Linked DNA regions of Homo sapiens: regions 1, 3, 4, 5, 6 and 7 are each linked to region 2. The links are contacts of gene promoters, found by promoter capture Hi-C in blood cells and fetal thymus (Javierre and others, 2016). All regions are on one chromosome and are shown on one strand. The core of a region is centred on a gene start or on the middle of the fragment in contact, and the rest is flanking DNA. Distances in the headings are between cores, read along the strand shown. Region 1 overlaps ECHDC1 (ethylmalonyl-CoA decarboxylase 1). Region 2 holds the start of TRMT11 (tRNA methyltransferase 11). Region 3 overlaps MTCL3 (MTCL family member 3). Region 4 overlaps RNF146 (ring finger protein 146). Region 5 overlaps LOC105377989 (a long non-coding RNA gene). Region 6 has its middle 16 kb from the start of RNF146. Region 7 overlaps RSPO3 (R-spondin 3).

Region 1 (3,018 bases), core at 323-2,822, 1.3 Mb before region 2:
GCTTGAGGCCAGGAGGTCAAGGCTGCATTGAGCCATTATGGCACCACTGCACTCCAGCCTGCGGGACAGAGTGAGACCCTTTCTCAAAAAAAAAAAAAATATAGTACAGTAAATACCCGAACCATTAACATGGTCATTTATTATTATCAAGTATTATGTAACATACATAATTGTATGTGCTATACTTCTGTACAGGTAGCAGTGCAGTAAGTTTGTTTTTAACAGCATCACCACAAAAATGTGAGTAAAGCATTGTTCTATGACATTACAATGGCGATGATGTCACCAGGCTATAGAAATTTTTCAGCCCCATTATAATCTTATGGGATCATTGTCATACAGTCCATTGCTGACTAAAATGTTGTTATTCAGTGCATGACTGTATACCTTATTTATAAAGGATTCTCTGATATAGACATTATTTTAAACATAATTATACCTGTAGTATGGATGGTTAGCTTGGTTTCAAGATCAAGATTCCAGAATGTGCTTCAGGAAGTACTTAAAACACTCATTCCTTGATTCTACTTTCTAATTCCAGTTATTCTAAAAACATGGGAAAATAGAGAAAAATCTCTCAAAACTACCTTAGAAAATAGAAAATGACAAACTCAGACTGCTTGGCTTTTAGCATCAACTTTTGGCAAAAAAAAGCATGTACACATTTTTATATGTCTAATATTTAATATTTTACTATTGAATTTGGTGTGAGAGAGAAACTGGAATTGTATTTTTTAATTTTTAATTTTGAAATAATTACAAACTTGCAGGAAAGGCGTGACAGTAATACAAATAATTTCCCTGTGCCATTCATTCAGGTCCAACAATTTTTAACATTTTGCTATTGTGTTTTATCTTTGTGTATCATATATTTTTTTCACCCAGACTAAGGGTAAATAAAGTATTGTACTGTGTCCAAAAGTTACTTACATTAGTTCACTGTTGTTTTTGTTGTTTCTCCTTCTTTGATGTTGAAATGGTCTGGGGTGAATGGTCTCGTTGTCTGAGGTGTTATCCGAGCTCCTTGTCTCACAATCAAGAAAACTAAGGAGCATGGACGCAAGGGGGAGGTTGGAGTCAAAGTTTAATAAGTGAAAGAAGAAAGCTCTTTGTAGTGGAGAGGGGGCCTGAGTGGGTTGCTGTTTTTACAGTTGAATCCAAAAGCTTTTATAAGAAACTCCCCTCATCTCTGTAGCTATTTGTGTAACTCTCCTTATCTCTGCAGCTGTGGGTATGTCTTGGGTAAGCACAAAGTGAAGCTTCTCTTGTTTGTTTAACTGCAGGTCTGTTTCAGGTAAGCCCACCCCCATTCCTTTGCAGGTTCCCACAGAGCCTACCATGTATATGCCTGAAAAGGGGAGGAACCTTTTTCCTGGAAGCCCGCTAATCACACAAAGGAAAAAAGGCTTCTCTGTTGGGCCTTGCTTTCTTATTAGTGTAGTTGCAGTTTAGTTTTTCCCCAGGTTGTTCTGTTTGTGCCTGTAGCTGTGATTTTTCAGGCTATTTCTCCAAGGACTAGCCTTAGCTGTCTGCCTGATTTTTCCTTTTCTTATCCCTCAATGTGATTTCATTTGAAAATACCTTGATTTAGTTTTTGCATTCAGTTTAAATTTTTTCCCTTGTTTCCAGCCTTATTTTATGTCTTGAATATGTTAGAATGTTGTAGTGAATAACTTTATCTATACTTTTTAGTAATACTAATGGCATATCTTAAGGATAAACACTAGAAATAGGATTGCTAAATCAAAAGTTAAATAAATATTAATGAGTTAATGAATATTTATTAATTATTGCCTAATTTTCTTCCATAAGAGATAGACAAGTCTTGCATTCCCTCTAGTCTGTTTCACTTAGCCTTGTCAACAGAGCCTACTATTAAGCTTTGGAATTTGCCAATTTCATGGGTAAGGAACAATATTTCAGCATAGTTTTAATATGCATTTCTTTTTTTTCTCTTTTTTTTTCTTTTTGAGGCAAGGTCTTGCTCTGTCTCACCCAGGCTGGGGTGTATAGTGGTACGATCACTGCTCACTGCAACTTCCGCCTCTAGGACTCAAGTCATCCTCCCACCTCAGCCTCCGGAGTAACTGGGACTACAGGAGTGCACCACCACACTTGGCTAATTTGTGTATTTTTTGTAGAGACGGGGTTTTGTCATGTTGCCCAGGCTGGTCTCAAACTTGTGAGCTCAAGTGATCCACAGCCTCCCAAAGTGCTGGGATTGCAGGCATGAGCCACTGCGCACAGCCCATTTATATTAAAGTGAAGTTGATTATAGTTTCATATGTCTTAAGGACCATTAAAAAATTTTTTTTGGTGAATTATTTATTCATATTTTGCTTATTTCTCAACAGGATATTTGTTTTTTTCCTTCAATTTTTTAAAGTTCTTCAAGTATTAGGGATAATGTCATTATCTGTGAAGTGTTTTGCATATATTTGCTCAGCTTGTTTTTTGACTTTGCTTGTTTTTTGTTTTTATTCTTTTTTGCCACACAAGCCTTTTTAAAAAAACATGGTCCACTGTGGGAGGCCGAGGCAGGCGGATCACAAGATCAGGAGTTTGAGACCAGCCTGGCCAGTATGGTGAAACCCTGTCTCTACTAAAAATGTATAAAAATTTAGCCGGGTGTGATGGCGCACGTGTAGTTGCAGCTACTCTGGAGGCTGAGGCAGGAGAGTCACTTGAACCTGGGAGGCGGAGGTTGCAATGAGCCAAGATCGTGCCACTGCACTCCAGCCTGGGCAATGGAGTAATAAGACCCTGTCTAAAAAAAAACAGACACACACACACAAAAGTAGTCATATCTATCAATCTTTTTAAAAGTTGCATCTGGATTTCAAGTGGTAGTTTAAAAGCCTTTCCATATATCAAGGTTATAGAAAAGTTCATGCGTGTTTCTTCTAGTACTTGAATGGTTTTGTGTTTTACATTTATATATCTAATCCATTTTGAGCTTATTTTCATGTATGCTGTGAGTAATGGATCTTATTTCATCTTTTTTCCAAATGGCAATTT
Region 2 (2,802 bases), core at 285-2,784:
CTTCTTCATGGCCTCCTCCGACTTTCCCTTAATATCAATGCTTCCAAGCATCTATACTTGGCCCGCTACTCTTTTGACCTTATCCTTTGAGTAATTTCTTCCCCGCTCCTAGTTTTCATATGAAGAAGACTCCCAAATATTTATCACTAGTCCAGATCACTCTGCCATACTCTATGCATATTCATATATCCACCGCCTCTTGGTCATCTCAGGTTGATGTTACACAACCACATCAAATTCAGTGTAAACAAAATTTAAATCTTACATCTGCCTATGTTCTCTATTTTAAATGGAGACACTCCTACCTATATACACCCCAGGAGTCATACCTGACTGGTGCCCCTTTCCCACATATTCAATCAATCCAGCCTTAATGACTGTATGGCCTAAATATTTTCCCAGTCTATCCCATCCTCTTACTCCTTGCCCTAGGTCAGACCTTCTTAATCTATTAACAAGACTATTCCCACAGACTCCTAGTCTCTGGCTCAAGTCTTATTCTTTTCAAATCCATCCTCCATAGTGTTGTCAAACTGATTTAATTTTGTGGTCACTTTTTTACTTAAGGCTTTTCAATAAATCCCCCTTCCAAGCTCCAGGGTACTCAAGGTTTTCATTTTCTGGCCTCGATCTACTTCCCTTGCTCTCTTCTTACCACTCTGCCACATAACTAGTGATCCAGTAATAATGAACACCTTGTAATTCTAATTTACTGATTTATCTCCTTGGCCCTCTAACTCCTATTCATCCTTTATTTCAAGTGTCATCTCCTCTGGAAGCCCTCTTAAAGGCCAACATCCCCAACCCCTCAGGTAGATTAGATTTCCCTTCCACGTGCTCTCATATTTCCATGTGCATCTATCACTGCACTTACCGACGCTCTTTTGTCATTCTACGCCTATGTGTCTGCTCAGCCCTTACTCTAAACAGTAAGCTCCTAGAGGGCAGAGATTGCTTACATCATCGTTACATGCCCAGCGTACCGATCTTCGACTACATGCATTCTGAAAACGTTTCTTGAATAAATAAAACACTCTTCTCAACTTCTCCATCATCTAATCCCCACCACCATCCCCTCCACTGAGCTTGATCCGCAGATTCCAATACTTCAAACACCAGCCTGAGCATTTGTTAGCTGTCTCTATTCTCCGCTAGACGAAGAGCTCCGGGAGTGAGATGACCGGTCATATTCACCTGCCTAACTCCGGTACTTGATACACGGGCAAAAGAATGAAAAGTTTAAGCAGGCCGAGGGGTTTGGTCTCGGACTTCTCTCACACACACCCTCCGCCAAGCTCACCCCGCCCGAGGACTGGGGACGCGTGACCCGCGCAGACCAGCGAAGACCCCCGAATCCCAGCTTCCTCGGGCTATGCAGATCACCTCCACCCACTCCACTCCACTCCAGCGTCCTCTTCCGTCGGAAGTTCCGGAGGGCGCTACGGACTCACCGGCAGGCGGAACTCCAGATGCTCCTGCGCCATGAGGAGCAGATACCTGTTAAGGGTACACGACAGCGCCATTGCAGCTGCCCACCGTGCGCCTGCGCGGCCCGCGCTAGGTCCCTCTTTCTCCCTCCCAAAGCCCAGTCTCCACAGAGACAGAGCCTGAAGGGCCGGAAGCGGAAGCTCTGCGAGGCAGGCGCTATCCCGACGTTTCTCGCGCTCCGAGTCCGAAACTCCGGCCGCTGTGGGAGGGGCTTCCTCACCTGTGAATGCCTGGTGGTTAGGGGTCTCCCAGCGCTGGTAGCTGGTGAGCGGGGACGCGTGGCTTTCAGGAGCAGCCTGTGATAATAAGACAGTATATTTCCAAGTTATCGTTCCACTTGGAGTGTGCTTCCAGCTTTCTCTACAGCCCTTCAAAACCTGTTCTTCAAAATTGGACTGAAATTTCACCATTTCCTTGGAAATTTCACCATTTCCTTGTAGGTTTGTCTAACCAGCACAGCTTTGGGAACTGATTTAGTTGGGCCAGTCATTTAACAGTATATTTTTCGTATTTATGTAACAACTTTTCGAGAGCACATGCCTTATAACCCAATTATAATAAACTCTTGAGGTCTGATATAATCTTTTATGGTTCACTCTATTCTTAACAAAAACCAAAAGAATATCTTCCTCAAAGTAGGCAATAATTATTAGGTTGTGTTATTTGTTAGACTCAGGACTAAATCCACAGCCAGCCATAAATTAAAACTTGGAGAAAGCTCACACTGGCACAGATTTCATAGCAGATAGTTTATGAAATATATTTTAATTGCATATTCTATGTATATATGTGACTTTTTTTTTTTAAGACAATCTTGCTCTGTCACCCAGGTGAGTGCAGTGGCGCAATCATAGCTCACTGTAACCTTGAACTCCTGGTCTCAGGGGATACTCCTACCCTAGTCTCCCAAAGTGCTAGAATTACGGGCTCAAGCCCTCCCTCTGGGCTATTTCTGCTTTTGAGAGTACCGAGCCCTTTGCCCTATTAAAAATTATTTATTTTGCATTTCTCTGTGGTATTGTACAAGGTGCAAAAGAGTATGTATCTGGCATATCCCCAGCGGCATGTGCCAGAAACGTAGTTGATGCGCAGTGGTAGTGATTAAGAACATAGGCTGTGGTGTCAATATTAGATTCAAACCTCACTTCCACCATTTACCATGTATATGCTCTTAACCTCTCCGAGCTTGAGTTTTCTTTTAAAAATGGAAAAACACACTGCCTCCTGCAAAGGATTGTTACAAGGATTAAGTGGAATAATGTTCATAAAGTGTTGAATATAACATCTGGCATATTGAATGGGGCCAATAAGTGG
Region 3 (2,796 bases), core at 289-2,788, 1.5 Mb before region 2:
GACCGAACCCAGGACAAAGCTTTGCAGGAAACCAGTGCATCCGTGTTCGAGCGGTTTTGGGATCCTCTGCCAAGTACGGGATAAGAGAATAGAGCAAGGAGTTTGAGCGCTGCTGCCAATCTTCCATCTCGGGCGTGGCTCTGGCCTTTTTGTCTCTTTATCCCGCCACTCCCCACCCCCGTCCCCCGTCCCCCTCCCCGCCTTCTTCTCTTTCCTCTTGAAAGTAACCTCTCTTTGGTTACTTCTACCCTATCGTCCCTTGCAATCCCGCCTTCTCTCCTGCCCAGTTCGGTGAGGTCAGCTCATGAACATCTCTGCACTTCCTGGGGAGCGTCTGGCCCAGCTTGGTACCTCGCGTGTTAGCCTGCTGAGAGCTGCAGCTCCAGCCCAGCCGCGGACCGCCGGGAAGTCACCCGCTCTGGGGGCAGCTGAATCTTGACGTTACCGCCATTGTTTGGAGAAATCGAGTGGGTGTGGAACTGCGGCGAGCGAGCCCAAAGTCATGCTCAGCCGGAAAGTCGCATACAATAATATGAAGTTGAACTTTCCTCGGCGCAGAAAGGCACAATAATAAACCCTGAGATCCCCGGAATATCAGAAGGAAAGTGCTGTTGATTTGTTCAGCTACTTGGAAACCTCGCCTCTGCTGAGAAGTGAGCAAGTTCTGGATTTCTAAAGGGTTGGGGATGAATGATGGGGTGGGTTAGCAGGCGGATAAAACTTGAGATTAAAAGTGTTGGTCTAAGCCGTGCAGGGGTTGGTTGGGTGATAATTTTCACCGGGAAAGCCTTGAAGAGATGCAGCATCTTGTCACTTTGTGGGAACCACGTGACAGCAGCCGGATACCTTTGATTGTGGAGCCCAGTTACTGGAACACAAGCTTTCGCCTGGGTTAATGCTGTCTGAGGGCTGAGTTTAAACATTGGCTTCTCAGCTCTGGAATTATTCTGCCTGATTAAAAACAAAAATAAGTTTGCATTGGCAATATAAGTTAGTTAGATAGCCCATGTTAGTGCCACCCATGATGATAAACTAGGCCAGACATTCTAGTAGTATCGCGACTGGGAGAGAAGATGTAGAAAACAAGTTGGTGGGCAATTTTCCCCCGATGTCTTCTTTGTTCACCTTTATATTTCAAAGTGAGTTGGAAGGAGATGCCAGAAACAGAAAGGGAGGTGGATTAGGAACCCTTCGGTAATATTTCTTTATAAAATGAGGAATTACTGCATGCTAAGTTGTGATGCTAACAATAGATGTTAACAAGAATAATGCAAGTAAAATAACTGGCAGTAAAGTAATCTGCTCTCTGTATAGAACAAATATTTTTAAAGGAGAAATTTATGCCTAGTCATGCCCCTTTCAGTGCTTTAGACAGAAATAATTTTAAGGAAAAGGCAACTAATTGACTAGCTGCCTGGATCCCTAGGGAGAGGAACCCATGAGGCAGTAACTTGCTATTTTTCAGATTAAAGAAGCTAGTGACGGATTTATCTTGGAAATACACATACTGGAAATTGATCTTACCACCATGAGGGAAGATGCACCAGCCTTCTGGGTTCTGTCTCAGAATTGCTATATAGGAGGAAATGGGCACTTTAAAAAGTACAACTTTTGCCTATGATATGCGATGTAAGAAGATGGCTAAGAATGAAAATATTTTCTATCTAGCAATTACACTTAAAACTAAAGTGATTCATAAGACTACAAAACTGGGTAAGCATAGGAAAATTCATCACCAGAAACTTAGGAAACTGCAGAACTGACCACAACTTTTCCAAATGTATTTTAAAAATTATTTCCCAAAAGGGAAAAAATACGTTTTTGGGTTGCTAATAACTAACCCATATAGACAATTCTTAATGCTATTATTTTCTTGAAACTGAGATTGATTTAAAGGCATTCATTATTTATATTTTCTTTTAGTTCTATTATAAAGGAAGTTGGGTGCATTTTCCCAAAAACAACATTAAGGGTTGGAGCTGCCTGGGGAAAGTGTCATTTATCCGTAGAAAATATTCTCTAGGAACCCTACATCATAACCCTTTTCCTCTAATTGAACTTGGGAATACTAATTAAATGAAAACTTTCTCCAGTAAACTAGGCTTTACATATGGATTTGATGGTAAGGAAAGCCAAAGTTGTAAAAGCAGAGTTGACAACTCTAATATATGGATATCTTTTCTTTCTGAAGCTTCTTTTCCACTTTATCCTCTTTTCTTTTATATCTCCCTTTCCATCAATTCCTGTCTGACTCTGTATCTCACCCTTTCCAAAGCCTGCTACCATGAGAATGTAAGGTTCAGCTGCTTTCAGATCCGTCATTTTGCTGAGGTGGAGTGAGATGGAGACAGCGCCACCCTGGGCAAAATGAGAATTGACAGCCCTCCATCCTATTCCTAAAGACAGCCCTGCATCCTATTCCTAAAGTCAAAGCTTCTATTAAGCGCCATCCAAATGGAGCAATATCACCCTTTGCTCTGCAAAAATTCAGACATGTTGTCTTCTTCTCTCCTTTTGTTTCTGTCCCAGCTTAGGAAGGAAGGTTGGCGGCGGTGAAGAGGGAAGAGGATGATCTAGTAATGGGCTCTTCCAAATCGCATCTGGTAGGTTCATAGCCATGAGTCAGCCACCAATCGGGGGCGCTGCCCCTGCCACAGCAGCAGCTTCTCCCGCCGCTGCAGCCACTGAGGCTCGTCTGCACCCGGAGGGCAGCAGCAGAAAGCAGCAGCGAGCTCAGTCACCCGCTAGACCGAGGGACAGTTCGCTGCGACAGACAATCGCGGCCACCCGGTCCCC
Region 4 (2,700 bases), core at 121-2,620, 1.3 Mb before region 2:
GACTGACTGATATATTTAAAAGGCAAAATGGACCAGGTTTCTTCCATATGTGAAGCACAATATTGGGTCCTCAGCCTACACAATAAAGACAAAGCTCCTTAGGACAACATTAAAAGGTTTTAAAGATCTAAACTGTAAATAATTAGTCTCTAGTCTTTTTTATCTTCAACAACCACCCATAGATTAATAATCTAGTTGTATAAAATTACTCATAGTCCTGCAAACCTCCCTTTGTAGCTCTGTATTTCCTCCTGCCTGGTACGATCTATTCCCTTTTACAGCTTATGAATGCCTATTTGTTCTTTAATATATTACACAGAAATGGTTATCTCTACCATTTTCTCTGACTACCTCCAGAAAGTTAACTGTTCTCTCCTCTATGTTTTGTATGTTTTTCTATTACGGAATTTATCACATGCACTAATTTCAATTCATTTGTGAAGTCTGACTCTTCTGTGAAATCATGAATCCCCTGAAGATAGGGAGATTTTTATATCTTTAAATAGCTAGTAAATTGTCAATCAATTTTTGTTGAACTGATATTTTTTGGATGAATGAAAAATCAACTCCTAAAAGTAACTATTGTGAGGAACAGAATATCAAAGGATTAGATTTATTCAAATAACACAACACTTGAGTTCTAATTGTGAACTCAAGCTGGAATCTGTAAGATACATAAAAATATCTAAGTTCTAATCCTTGCTTTATATAACTTAAAATCTAAAGGAGTTCCTACATTTACAAATATAAAATTCAACCCATCTTTGTATCTTTTGGCAAGCAAATCATTTACCCAGCTATTGTTCATTGTCAATGAATTCTCCAAAATGGAGATAAAAATCTAAGCATAAACCAAGATGGGTTTCTGAACAGCCAAAACAGCTTCACAAAGCTCTTTCCCCAATAAAGCTTATGATTCTTCACTAGGATGACCACATAGGTCAGCCCAGCATCTATCCAGTTTGCCCTTGGTCTCCCAACAAGTGTTCCAGTTCAGAAAAATTATACAGACATTCTACCCTTTACCCATCACAAAGGTTTTCGGACCATCACTCAAAAGTCAATTTGCTCTTACTTTACCCACAATTCTTTTGTTTTGTTTTGTTTTAAGAGACAGCGTCTGTTAACCAGGCAGGAGTCCAGTGGTATGACTGCAGGTAACTTAAACCTCAAACTCCTGGCCTCATGTGATGCTCCTACCACAGGCTCCCAAAGTGTTGGGATTACAGGTGAGGGCCACCATGCCCAGCCTTTACCCACAATTCTAACTTGAAGTTTTTTGGTCCACAAAGTCCTGCTGAGTGTTGCTGTTGGTCATTAGCACTGCCTATCCTTCGCTATCTTACAAGTCTTTTAAGATGTACCAATCCATCCTTCTCAGAACCTAATTGATTGAATGGTAAAACCTCTAGTGTGAAGATTCAATTAAAACATTTCTTCTAAAAATTTCGTTCAATCACTATTTGTACTTTAATAATTGAGATGTGTAGAAGGTACCATTTTATTCCTAAGAAATACACAAAAAATGTCCTTGTTTCTAATTCTCCTTATCTCCTGAATGCATTTACACATTATCTGTAACCAATCTAATTTATTCCTCTCTATTCACTTACTTTACTTAGGTCTTATCCATAAATATTTTATCTCTGAAACAAAAGTTGATTCTTAAAGGAATCTAAGTTAACTGAAACAAAGCAGCTTCAAAATAAGTACAAAAAAATCCTCTAAAGAACCCATATTTGAACACCCAAATAAGCTGTGATCTTTCCTATAAAACTATTTCACATAGCTGAAATAAAGCTATAGCCACAAATATTAAAGTAAAAGCTTTGCTACATATCCACTAGAACAAAGGTACTAAAAAAAAATCTGGTTAATTCAAGGAGATGCATTCTCTCATTCTGCTTTCCTTATTTGAAGACTAATGATTAAATTCAAGTAACTTATCAATAGCAAAATTATTTGAAAAAGCCCCTTATAAAGAAAACACACACACACACAAACCCAGGAGCAGAGAACTATTTACTTAATAGTACTGAAATAACAGCAAAGTATCTATGAATAATGACTTTCCATCAATATAAACTTTCTCCTTCAACAGAAAGAACATCCTTGCCCTCATTACACTCCTCTAGTCCAGTTATGTTCAGCAGTAAACAAAAGAATGTATCAGTGACCATAACTCACATTCGAGTATCTTTCTATACATTAATGCCATTTTCAAAAGAACACAGCCAAAGACATATTTATTTAGCCTATTTCTTCAATTTTTTTTTTTCTAATTCTGGCCTGAAGTCATTTCTAGGATTCCTTTAGAAATGGCTTTCTCTAATTTTCAAAATATTGATGATGTCATTTCTTTCTTTAAAGATCTTTGACGATAACCTCATACAGCTGACCTTTCAACAACACAGGTTGGAAATGAACAAGTTGACTTATATACATACAGTTTTTTCAATAAATATGTTGGAAATTTTTTTGGAGATTTGTGACAATTTGAAAAAACTTGCAGATGAATCATGTAGTCTTGAAACATCAAAAAAAGGAAAAGAAAAAATTAGGTATATTATGAATGCATAAAACATATATAGTCTATTTTATCATTTAGTATTATAAAATATAGAGAAATTATAAGAAGTTAAAGTGTATCAAAACTTAGTAAACACAGACACATATGGTGCCACTTGAGGTGGTACAAGA
Region 5 (2,821 bases), core at 30-2,529, 1.2 Mb before region 2:
GTGCTGGGATTACAGGCGTGAGCCATGGCGCCTGGCTGTAAGTTACATATATTTCTAATGAGTTTTTTTTTTTTCTTGGCATTGGAATACAATGCTTTCTATGTCACCTACAAAAAATCTTACCAGAGCATTACACAAAATAAGAGAAGTAATTCCTAGGGCAATTATCTACATAATAATATTATAGTAAAATTTACTAGGAGCAACTCAAGCATTTGATGTAATTATTTTGTACAGGTAGAGAGCTGGACCAGTTGCTGTTTGCCGATGATAAATGTTAATTGAATGGGATAACTACACATAAGTCGGATGCTGATAGGAAGTGCATGAAACATGGTCTCTGCCATTGCAATGAGAAACAATGGTTGAATGTCATAATCATTATAATATACTCTTACAATGGAAGTATTGTGTTTTTCTGGTACATTATATTGGAGAAATTGGTTTCCCAAGACAGAAAGAAGATTTTTATGTAACAGGACAGTAATAATTAGACCTAAATATAAACCATTTTCATATCTAAATTAACTGCTTGGTGACTGAGTGCTAGTTTCAAACAGTAGAAAACAAGGGAATTAAAATATAACTAAGAAGATAAGCCCAACTTGCAAAAAGCCATTATGGACAGACAGTATTCCATTCTTTGGATTTTAAAGTAAAATCAGTAAGTCTTTGATTTGTTTTTGGTTAATAATGGAAAGCATTTTCCAAACTAAAAGAAAATGAAATTAATACTTTATTAATGGTGCTAAGAAAAGCTAGCACTCCCTCTCACCCCACTCCTAGCAAAGCTTTGCCTCCAGATGTTATTTTGTATTTATTTTGCAATGTTTATTATGGCAGTCCAAGATGTTTATGTCTTAAAGATACATTGGTCAGTTTATTTACAGAGAGACAGCTTCTTGAAGTGAAGGCAGTTTACTTTGGGTGTGGGTTAAGCTACATAGCACTAGAGAGAATGGGTGTGACTGGTTTCCTCTTGTGTGTTCTCTTATTATTTCTTTCGTTTCTTTTCATTACAAGCGCTTCTCTCTCTCTTTTTTTAATCCTGTAAGGTTTTATATGATTTGTCCTGTGAGAAATAGTTGAGTTTTTCTGAGCAGTTACCCTGTACAGGAAATGAAAGAAACACAAGGCAGAATGGATGACAGGGCCTTGACACCTTTGCTTACCACCTTTGCCTCCTGTCAAAGGTGACACTGGAATAGCTGGAGACCTTCTCAAGGCACTCAGGATAGAGAGCAGTCTGTAGTATTTGACAGAATCACTGATATTTCTCAGGCAAGGCTTAGGATTGACTAACGGGAGAGAAGGGAGGCAGTAGGTGCTTGTGTTTGTGCAGTAGGACTGGACCAAGGATTTTGAAAGATTCTGTCGTTCCTTTTTTTAATGTATTGCAAACTAACACAGAATTAAATTGTAAAACCAGTATAAGAAAGTTCAACCAAGTTCTCACTTTTCTCATTATGACTATTTCAATGCCATTTCAGTAATATTGAATAACATTTATTTGAAACATTGCTTTGTAATATAAAAACAACATTTTTAAAGTTGTTTTTTCTTACTTCTGCTTTGTTGAGTTCATCAGAGTGTACTAACACTCTGATGGGAAATCCAATTTGTGGAAGTGCAAGGACATGACAAAAGAGAAGCTGGCAATGTGATATTTGGTGAAGGCTGGAGAAGGGCTGAGACATGTTTTGGTTAGGACTGGTGTGGCGTCTTCATACCCATAATGTAGTATTTTGCAGGAAGAGTGAAGCTTCATCTTGCAAATTAGAATATATAGGGAATTCCACTTTTAATTATTTTCCTCCACTTTAGCATTATTTTTCTTTCCATGCTTTAAGGAGTGATTTGGGCATAGATTTGTTTTCTGAAGTATTCTCAATACACTTTTAACTTAATATTTAAGTCTTGTATGTTTCAAGTGATACAAGGGAAAAGCAGGACCATCTGCTGCTTTTTCTTTGTGGATCTGAAATAATCTTACACCTCTTAAAGAGACATTTTGTAAACACTGCCTGTGGCTAGCCCTTATAACTGGCTACTTCAGTTAAAATGATTCTCAAAGGTATAGTTTATTTTATTTAATTTTAGTCATTTGAAAATAATGACTAAATACTGCTTGAGTGGCAGATCAAGACATTAATTTTGCTGGCCAGTTCAGTAGTTCAGTTATGATCATTGTTACAGATAAAAGAGTTTTCCTTCAAATTGATAATTAAATCACCCAATCTCGGTGAAGCTATACTTAGATAACTATCTGTATTTTCACATTTTCTGGATCTTTTTTGGTATCAAAACATACAAAGTTGCATAACTATAAAAGCACTAATATGTTTTATATCATTTTTACAGAATGGAAAACATCAATATTTATTGTGGATGCCAGGCTTGGTATATCAATTATTACAAAATCATACAAGGCTTTTAACCTCCATCTAGAAACCTGATAGAAAATTTTAGGAGAATGTTATGTCACCTATACATATGAAAATTGTCTAATCTGATAGCTCTACTGGTACAGCAAAGCACTGTTGCTAATTTCCTAATGGCAGAATCTATAGGTTGATTGATTATTTATTTAAAAGATACTTTATTAATGGATGGAAAGGGCATCTGCTGACTATTTTCATGTTTCATGTTTTATATTCCTGTCCCAAAGTGACTACATTAAACCTGAAACAAGTGATTTTTTTACACAGTCATTTCTCTTTATGCTTATTAATTTCTAATTATTCTTTGCTTGTCAATATAGTGTTAATTTATCCATTATCTAATTGACTGGTTTCTTTTGGGGGTGAAAGGGGTGGAGGCA
Region 6 (2,901 bases), core at 283-2,782, 1.3 Mb before region 2:
CATCTCTCAACCTTTGTTAGAGTAAGTAGTTGAAAAAAAAGATGACAAGAAGAAATTGCGTGATAATATAAGGCTAAATCAATAGATATACGATAAGTTTTAAAGCTTTATATCCACAAGAGAAGAATATAACTTACTTAGATGCCCATGTAATACCAAAAAGAGACAGAAAAAAATAAACTCATGTACTTAGACTGAAAGGAATACTTCAATACATTTCTCAAATCAAAAATTCATATTTTCTGACCATGATAGAATTCACTGGATATTAATTTATTAGATGGGAATAAAATATCTTATCATTTAAAAGTTCAAAGTAAAATCTCCTATCTTAGCCAATGATAAAAATAATAATATAATCTGAGACAATTTTGAAACAAGAATAGAAAGAACACAAGGCATTAGCATTTTTCTTTTTTTAGTGTGGACTAAACTTACCTCACGGAATATTGGTAGTAAAAAAATGTTTATTACTAAAAAGAAGAATTTTAAATAGGAAACAAAAATAGAGGAAAAAGTCTAAATATAAAAGTCAAAGTGGAATTGATAATCCAAAAGTTTTATTTTAATTTAAAAATAAATGCATAATGTAGCAGCTATATCATAGGCACATTTTATTAAGAATGATGTCAAAGACAAACATTATTAAGGATGAAAAAGAAAAAATAAAGACATGGAGGAAGTTAATAGTATTGAATTACATTGTACTAATAAGTTTGAAAATTCCAGTCACATAGGTAACTTGGAGCATGCCAATCTTTGTATACAAATAAATTTTTCCTACACTCTGGACTAACTGTGCTTTCTATCTACATGGAATCTCTTTCCTTGGATTTTTGATGGTTCCTTCTTGTCAATGATGTCTCATCTTAAAAGTCACTTTCTCAGAGAGGTTTTTATTTTGACTACCCATAGTTTCTCAACATCCCTCAGCCTGTCACTCAGCACAATATCACACTCTTTTAATTTCACCTGGGCATTTATCATTAGCTGATATTTTAAAATTTTATGTGTTGGTTTATTATCTGTCTTCTCTTCTGAGAATATATATTCCTTTCATATATAATTACACACAGAAAGGCCCCTCTGTGTGTCTTTATTACCCAATGCACATAGAACAATGACACATAGTTGGTATCAATAAAGGTCTTAAGTAAATAGATTTTTAGGAAATAAACATGAGTAGAATCACAAAAAATATATCCAATAATCATGGTATTACCTCAAAAAAATAGTTCCAGGCACGACAGTTTGCTGTCAAACACTTTCAAGCTCTCTATAACTCAAAACTCTTCATGTTATGTAAAATGTTCGATAGCCCAGAAAATGGGCTATCAATTGACCAGCTAATGATATGCTTAGAAAACCTAAAAGAATACATTTTAAAATTCTTAAAACCAGAATATAAGTCAAATGTTCAGATACAAAATAAATAAAAAGAATATTTATATATTGGCAATAACCATTTAGGAGATAAAATTTCAATTAAAATATCAAAGGATGTTGTTGAAGATGCACAAAGTTATTCTTAAATTTACTTAAGTGTACAGGAAAGAAAAATTTGAAAAACGATACCAGTGGAGGGCTGCTGGTTTTTAAATGGATGAGGATTTTTTCATAGTTTTTAAAATGCTTCCAAAAATAATAATAGTTAAAATTGTGGAATTTATTATTATGAAAATAGTATGGAAGTGGTGGAAGAATATACTCGTTAGTAGGACAGCTGCTAGTATACAAGTATACAGTGTTTGGTGGTGGAAGGATAAGATCTTAATGAGAAAGACTGTTTCCAACAATTTCGGGGAAAAATTGCCTACTTGGAGATAAATATATGTGTGTGTGTGTATATATATATATATATACACACATACATATATATGTATAAAACATTCACCTCTTACACTATAAACCAAAGATTGCAAACTGGTGACCACCCTTGTATTATAACTGGGCCACAAATGTACATGGTTTGTTGCATGGTATTATAAAACTCAAAAAAATTTACAACAAACTATAATTTTTTTTTTGTTTTTTCTTTTTTAATATGGGAAGAAAAATTAAAACAGAAGATATAGCAACACTGGACTCACATTCCCAGATGGCAGCATTTGGCAAGAACAGAGGAGTGTCAGCTCCCCTGGTGCTCTGCAATTTGGCACAATTCTTCCCACCTCCTGTTTTATGCCAGTTTGCCTCACACATTTATGTGAATGGCTCCGCTCCTGTAGCCATTTGAGATTCAAAACTTCAGGTGGGTCAAGAGTTGGCTATAAAAGATAAAACTCAGAAATAAGTGAGAAGAAGATACAGGTGGCTATTTAACTGATTCTCACAAACTGGTGTAAGCCAATTCAATCTTGCATAACTCTTAGGTTATTTTTAAAATTTAGTAGTAGCCTCCAATGTTTAGAGGTGGATGAAGTTTAACTACTTCCCCACAACCTATCAGGTTATGAAGAAAGCAAATGCAGATCAAATTCTGCCACCCATACATCCATTGGAAAGCATGCAAAAAAATCTCAGTAGGGATCACGCCTTGGTGCCATCTTTAAGTGAGTAGGATATGACTCCCTGAATTCTTGTGGAATTGTCTCTGAAATCTTTTATTCAATGTATGTATCTCCCATACCATTAATTTCATCAATAAGTACCGATTTCATCAAAGATAAATTAGATGCAGTACTTATAGTCTTTGAAATGTAGCCTTTCTGATTAAATGCTAAATAATCGCCTTTTGTATGAGCATTCCTGATTAGGGCAAATGATCCCATATAAAGCATAGCTTAAATCAATTGTCCCGTAAATAATAGCACATTGTCTATGCCAAAGTTTAAAAAAATAAATTATAGAGACCACAGCATTGGCCTTTTGAATAGAAGTACTTTCTGAACATAGAAGAAA
Region 7 (2,887 bases), core at 346-2,845, 1.2 Mb before region 2:
CAGCACCATTCAGCACTATCTCATTCTCTATTCTCTTTCTTTTTATTTTTGCTACAAGCCTATATTTTAGTATTTCCACTCCCCCAACATATAGAGGTATGATATATATATATATATATGTAACTTGAAAATTATACATCATTTATATCTAATTTAGAAATAATTTTCCATTAGACTACTACTGTTACATTTTTGAAGCTTTAATGAAATTATCACATATTTTCATATTTTGTTATACTTAATACTAAAAAAGAGAAAGAAAAATTATATAGCTTTAAAATTTTAAAATGCTACTTGAGGTTTGAATGCAGTCCTATTATAAATCATTTCACCTTATAGCAGACATCATAAATATCAGTAATCACAACTTTTTAGAATGTGTATTTTCATAGTCTGCTTTAAGCATAATAAACTCTCTTTTGCCTAATTAAATACCTTCCTTACAAATGGACCATTGCCAATAGGCCTTTACAAATTTTTTTCTCTGTTGTTTAAATAATTTTATTATCCACTAAAGACTCAGAATCTGAAATTTTGAATGTTGGCTCAATGTCGTGACAGAGGTTTCCATAACCCTTTCATTCAAGCTAACTCCATTCCACCTCATTGCTTCTGCTGCCTGGAACCCCAGCCTGGAATCCTTGCTTCCATTTAAAAGGGCCATTAGCTGGAGTCCAAAAGAAACTATTAAAGGCACTGGGTATTGCATACTAGGATGCCTTCCTGTTCTATGTTAAAAGAACAGTTAAAAGTGATCAGGGGAGAAAGTACCCAAAGATTTTTAAAAATATTGGCAATGTTTACGAATTTTACTCATTATAAAAGTAAAGGATATTCTGTATTTTATTGTATAATATTTTAAAAGCTAGCAGGGTATTATAATTTATATTAAATATTTTAGATTTTGCATTCTTTTGTATGGGTTTATTTCTCTTGTATCAACTGCTTTTTGGTTAAAAGTTCATTTACAATAAGTAATTTTTTCTTCAGAGCAGAAGTTGTTATCTTGACTTTGAAATCCTATCTATCACCTTAGGATAGATCATAAAACTCTTGGAAAGTAAATCAGATACATTGACTTACATGTAGACAATTTCTTGATCTAAGCATGTTTGCATAACACATTTTGAATTAGATCTTGGGTTTTAAATAATTGTATCTATTAAATAAGCATATAAATTTATTCTCATTCTTACTTGTTATCAAAGGGTATGTTGGCAAATTTCATCTATTAAGCACCGTCAAATATTATTCATTACTTTTGCCGTGAAATTCATGACTAGCTTGTTGGATGAATATTATTGTTCCCTTAAAAAAATGACCCTGAATAGGATACTTTGGTTGTTTTATATAATGTTTATGAGCTTATAATATGGGAATTTTATTACCTATCTTCAGAAATTTAGTCAGTGGGGCGTCCTAACACTAATATTTCAAAGACCATTAAAGCCTGCCTAACAACATTGTCGTGTTCTATCCCAAATTTTCAATTTGGACCTAGTCCTCTCAAAATATTAGTGACTATCTCAAAAACGAATTGATGTGTTCATCTTTTTTTTGTAACACTCGTACTCTACCCTGTCCCCATCTCACCACCATGCCCGCTGGCGCCCCCTGCTGCTTCAACCACCATCTTCCATCTCAAGCTGGAGAATATGCGTGAGTCTATGGAACTTATTAAATATTTATTTCATATTACCCTTTAAAAAGTTCTCTCAGCAATTTAAATATTTAAAAAAGTGGAACAGCCTCTTTGAAAAATTTCTGTTATACACACATTGCCAGACTGAAAGTACATAAATAGTATTACCTAGAAGTCTTCCTATAAAATTATTTTAAATCAGAATACACAATTATAATTCAGACCATCTATCCAGTGATTCCTTTAAGACATCTGGAAAAATTATTTCTTTAGTACTTGACTATCATTAATTTTTAAACAACTTTTCACATTATTTGCGATAAATTAGTTTGCCTAACGTGCCAATTTAAAATTTAAATGTAACAATGTTATTTAATATATCTATAATCAATGACTAAGTTTAAAGTACTGCCTATGGTACAGATTGCTTTAAAAATATGAATTTTCAAAATAATTTTTTCCCAGTAAATTTTTATTTTCTTGCTGTAGATCTTTTTGAGTTGACTCTCATGTTTCCCCAGCCCCAATAACACATATTCCAGTAACACAGTAAAGAACACTTAAATGTGTTGACTTATCTAATTCATTTGCTTCAGAAAATCAGGAACCACAGCTGTATTATCCATCTTTCATTCTCAAAATTAATGGTTTCTATTTCTATTTTCTCTTTACATATTCCTCTCATGACTGAGCATAGTGAAAGTTAGCTTTTATGTAGAGTTTAAAATAAAACTTGTATTTGAATTTTCCCTATTTTTCTTTAGTTAAATGTGTAGGCCCACAGCTCATTCATTTGTGCTTAAAATACATGTTCTGGAATCAGTATATGATAAATATTCACCAAATGCCTTTTATTTTTTCTAAGAATCACTAAGGCAAGATCACTGTCTTCATCTTTGATGGAATATAACTTTCCAATTAACAGAAAAGTCCTTCATTTCAAAAGGCTGAGCAGAATGCTACTTGAAAATTTATTCCAGCTGGTTAAATTAAAGAATTGAACGAATTCCAAAGAAAGAATATTCTCTGGGCATTTATCATTTGATTTTTATTTGGATAAATTTCCATTTGTTCTAAGAGCTTGTCTTAGAATTTTGTTCTTTTGAGACAGAAACAGAAGAAGTGTTGATAGCCACATTTGGCACTGCTATACTCATTCCCTTACCCAAATTGTCTACTGGGTTGTATGGACAGGAGCGGATGGCCTCATACTTGCTGACATGTTTGCTGTGATTGATTATACAA

What was found. The method cuts DNA at HindIII sites, captures the fragments that hold promoters and counts their contacts. A CHiCAGO score of 5 or more calls a contact.
Region 1: a contact is called between a fragment that was not itself captured here and the fragment with the promoter of TRMT11 in region 2, in 5 of 17 cell types (total CD8 T cells, naive B cells, total B cells and 2 more). The highest score is 7.5, in total CD8 T cells.
Region 3: a fragment that was not itself captured here is called in contact with the fragment with the promoter of TRMT11 in region 2 in 1 of 17 cell types (total B cells); the score reaches 8.6 in total B cells.
Region 4: a contact is called between a fragment that was not itself captured here and the fragment with the promoter of TRMT11 in region 2, in 5 of 17 cell types (total CD8 T cells, non-activated CD4 T cells, total B cells and 2 more). The highest score is 7.4, in total CD8 T cells.
Region 5: a contact is called between a fragment that was not itself captured here and the fragment with the promoter of TRMT11 in region 2, in 1 of 17 cell types (M1 macrophages). The highest score is 5.5, in M1 macrophages.
Region 6: a contact is called between a fragment that was not itself captured here and the fragment with the promoter of TRMT11 in region 2, in 2 of 17 cell types (naive CD8 T cells and total B cells). The highest score is 6.2, in naive CD8 T cells.
Region 7: a fragment that was not itself captured here is called in contact with the fragment with the promoter of TRMT11 in region 2 in 1 of 17 cell types (M2 macrophages); the score reaches 5.1 in M2 macrophages.

Annotation. Positions count from the first base shown.
Region 1 is chr6:127,295,961-127,298,978 of GRCh38, reverse strand. The region is part of intron 5 of ECHDC1 (ethylmalonyl-CoA decarboxylase 1); the gene reads left to right. Among named protein-coding and RNA genes, the nearest start is that of RNF146, 31 kb to the right of the region's middle. The HindIII fragment of the contact is 621 bases long and covers 1,262-1,882 here.
Region 2 is chr6:125,985,272-125,988,073 of GRCh38, reverse strand. It overlaps TRMT11 (tRNA methyltransferase 11), which reads right to left and starts at 1,534. Exons shown (of 13, transcript NM_001031712.3): 1 at 1,452-1,534. The coding sequence starts at 1,523. RefSeq lists enhancers at 651-1,480, 1,014-1,503, 1,481-2,311. The HindIII fragment of the contact is 7,229 bases long and covers 1-2,802 here.
Region 3 is chr6:127,516,436-127,519,231 of GRCh38, reverse strand. It overlaps MTCL3 (MTCL family member 3), which reads left to right. Exons shown (of 7, transcript NM_001400265.1): 1 at 1-653; 2 at 2,530-2,796. The coding sequence starts at 2,618. It overlaps SOGA3-KIAA0408 (SOGA3-KIAA0408 readthrough), which reads left to right. Exons shown (of 13, transcript NR_174482.1): 1 at 1-653; 2 at 2,530-2,796. Among named protein-coding and RNA genes, the nearest start is that of MTCL3, 1.5 kb to the left of the region's middle. The HindIII fragment of the contact is 1,311 bases long and covers 883-2,193 here.
Region 4 is chr6:127,273,341-127,276,040 of GRCh38, reverse strand. The region is part of intron 1 of RNF146 (ring finger protein 146); the gene reads right to left. Among named protein-coding and RNA genes, the nearest start is that of RNF146, 7.8 kb to the right of the region's middle. The HindIII fragment of the contact is 918 bases long and covers 912-1,829 here.
Region 5 is chr6:127,203,296-127,206,116 of GRCh38, reverse strand. The region is part of intron 1 of LOC105377989 (a long non-coding RNA gene); the gene reads left to right. Among named protein-coding and RNA genes, the nearest start is that of RNF146, 62 kb to the left of the region's middle. The HindIII fragment of the contact is 971 bases long and covers 794-1,764 here.
Region 6 is chr6:127,249,069-127,251,969 of GRCh38, reverse strand. No RefSeq gene overlaps it. Among named protein-coding and RNA genes, the nearest start is that of RNF146, 16 kb to the left of the region's middle. The HindIII fragment of the contact is 2,849 bases long and covers 108-2,901 here.
Region 7 is chr6:127,185,822-127,188,708 of GRCh38, reverse strand. All of the region lies in intron 4 of RSPO3 (R-spondin 3), which reads right to left. All of the region lies in intron 1 of LOC105377989 (a long non-coding RNA gene), which reads left to right. Among named protein-coding and RNA genes, the nearest start is that of RSPO3, 69 kb to the right of the region's middle. The HindIII fragment of the contact is 2,789 bases long and covers 201-2,887 here.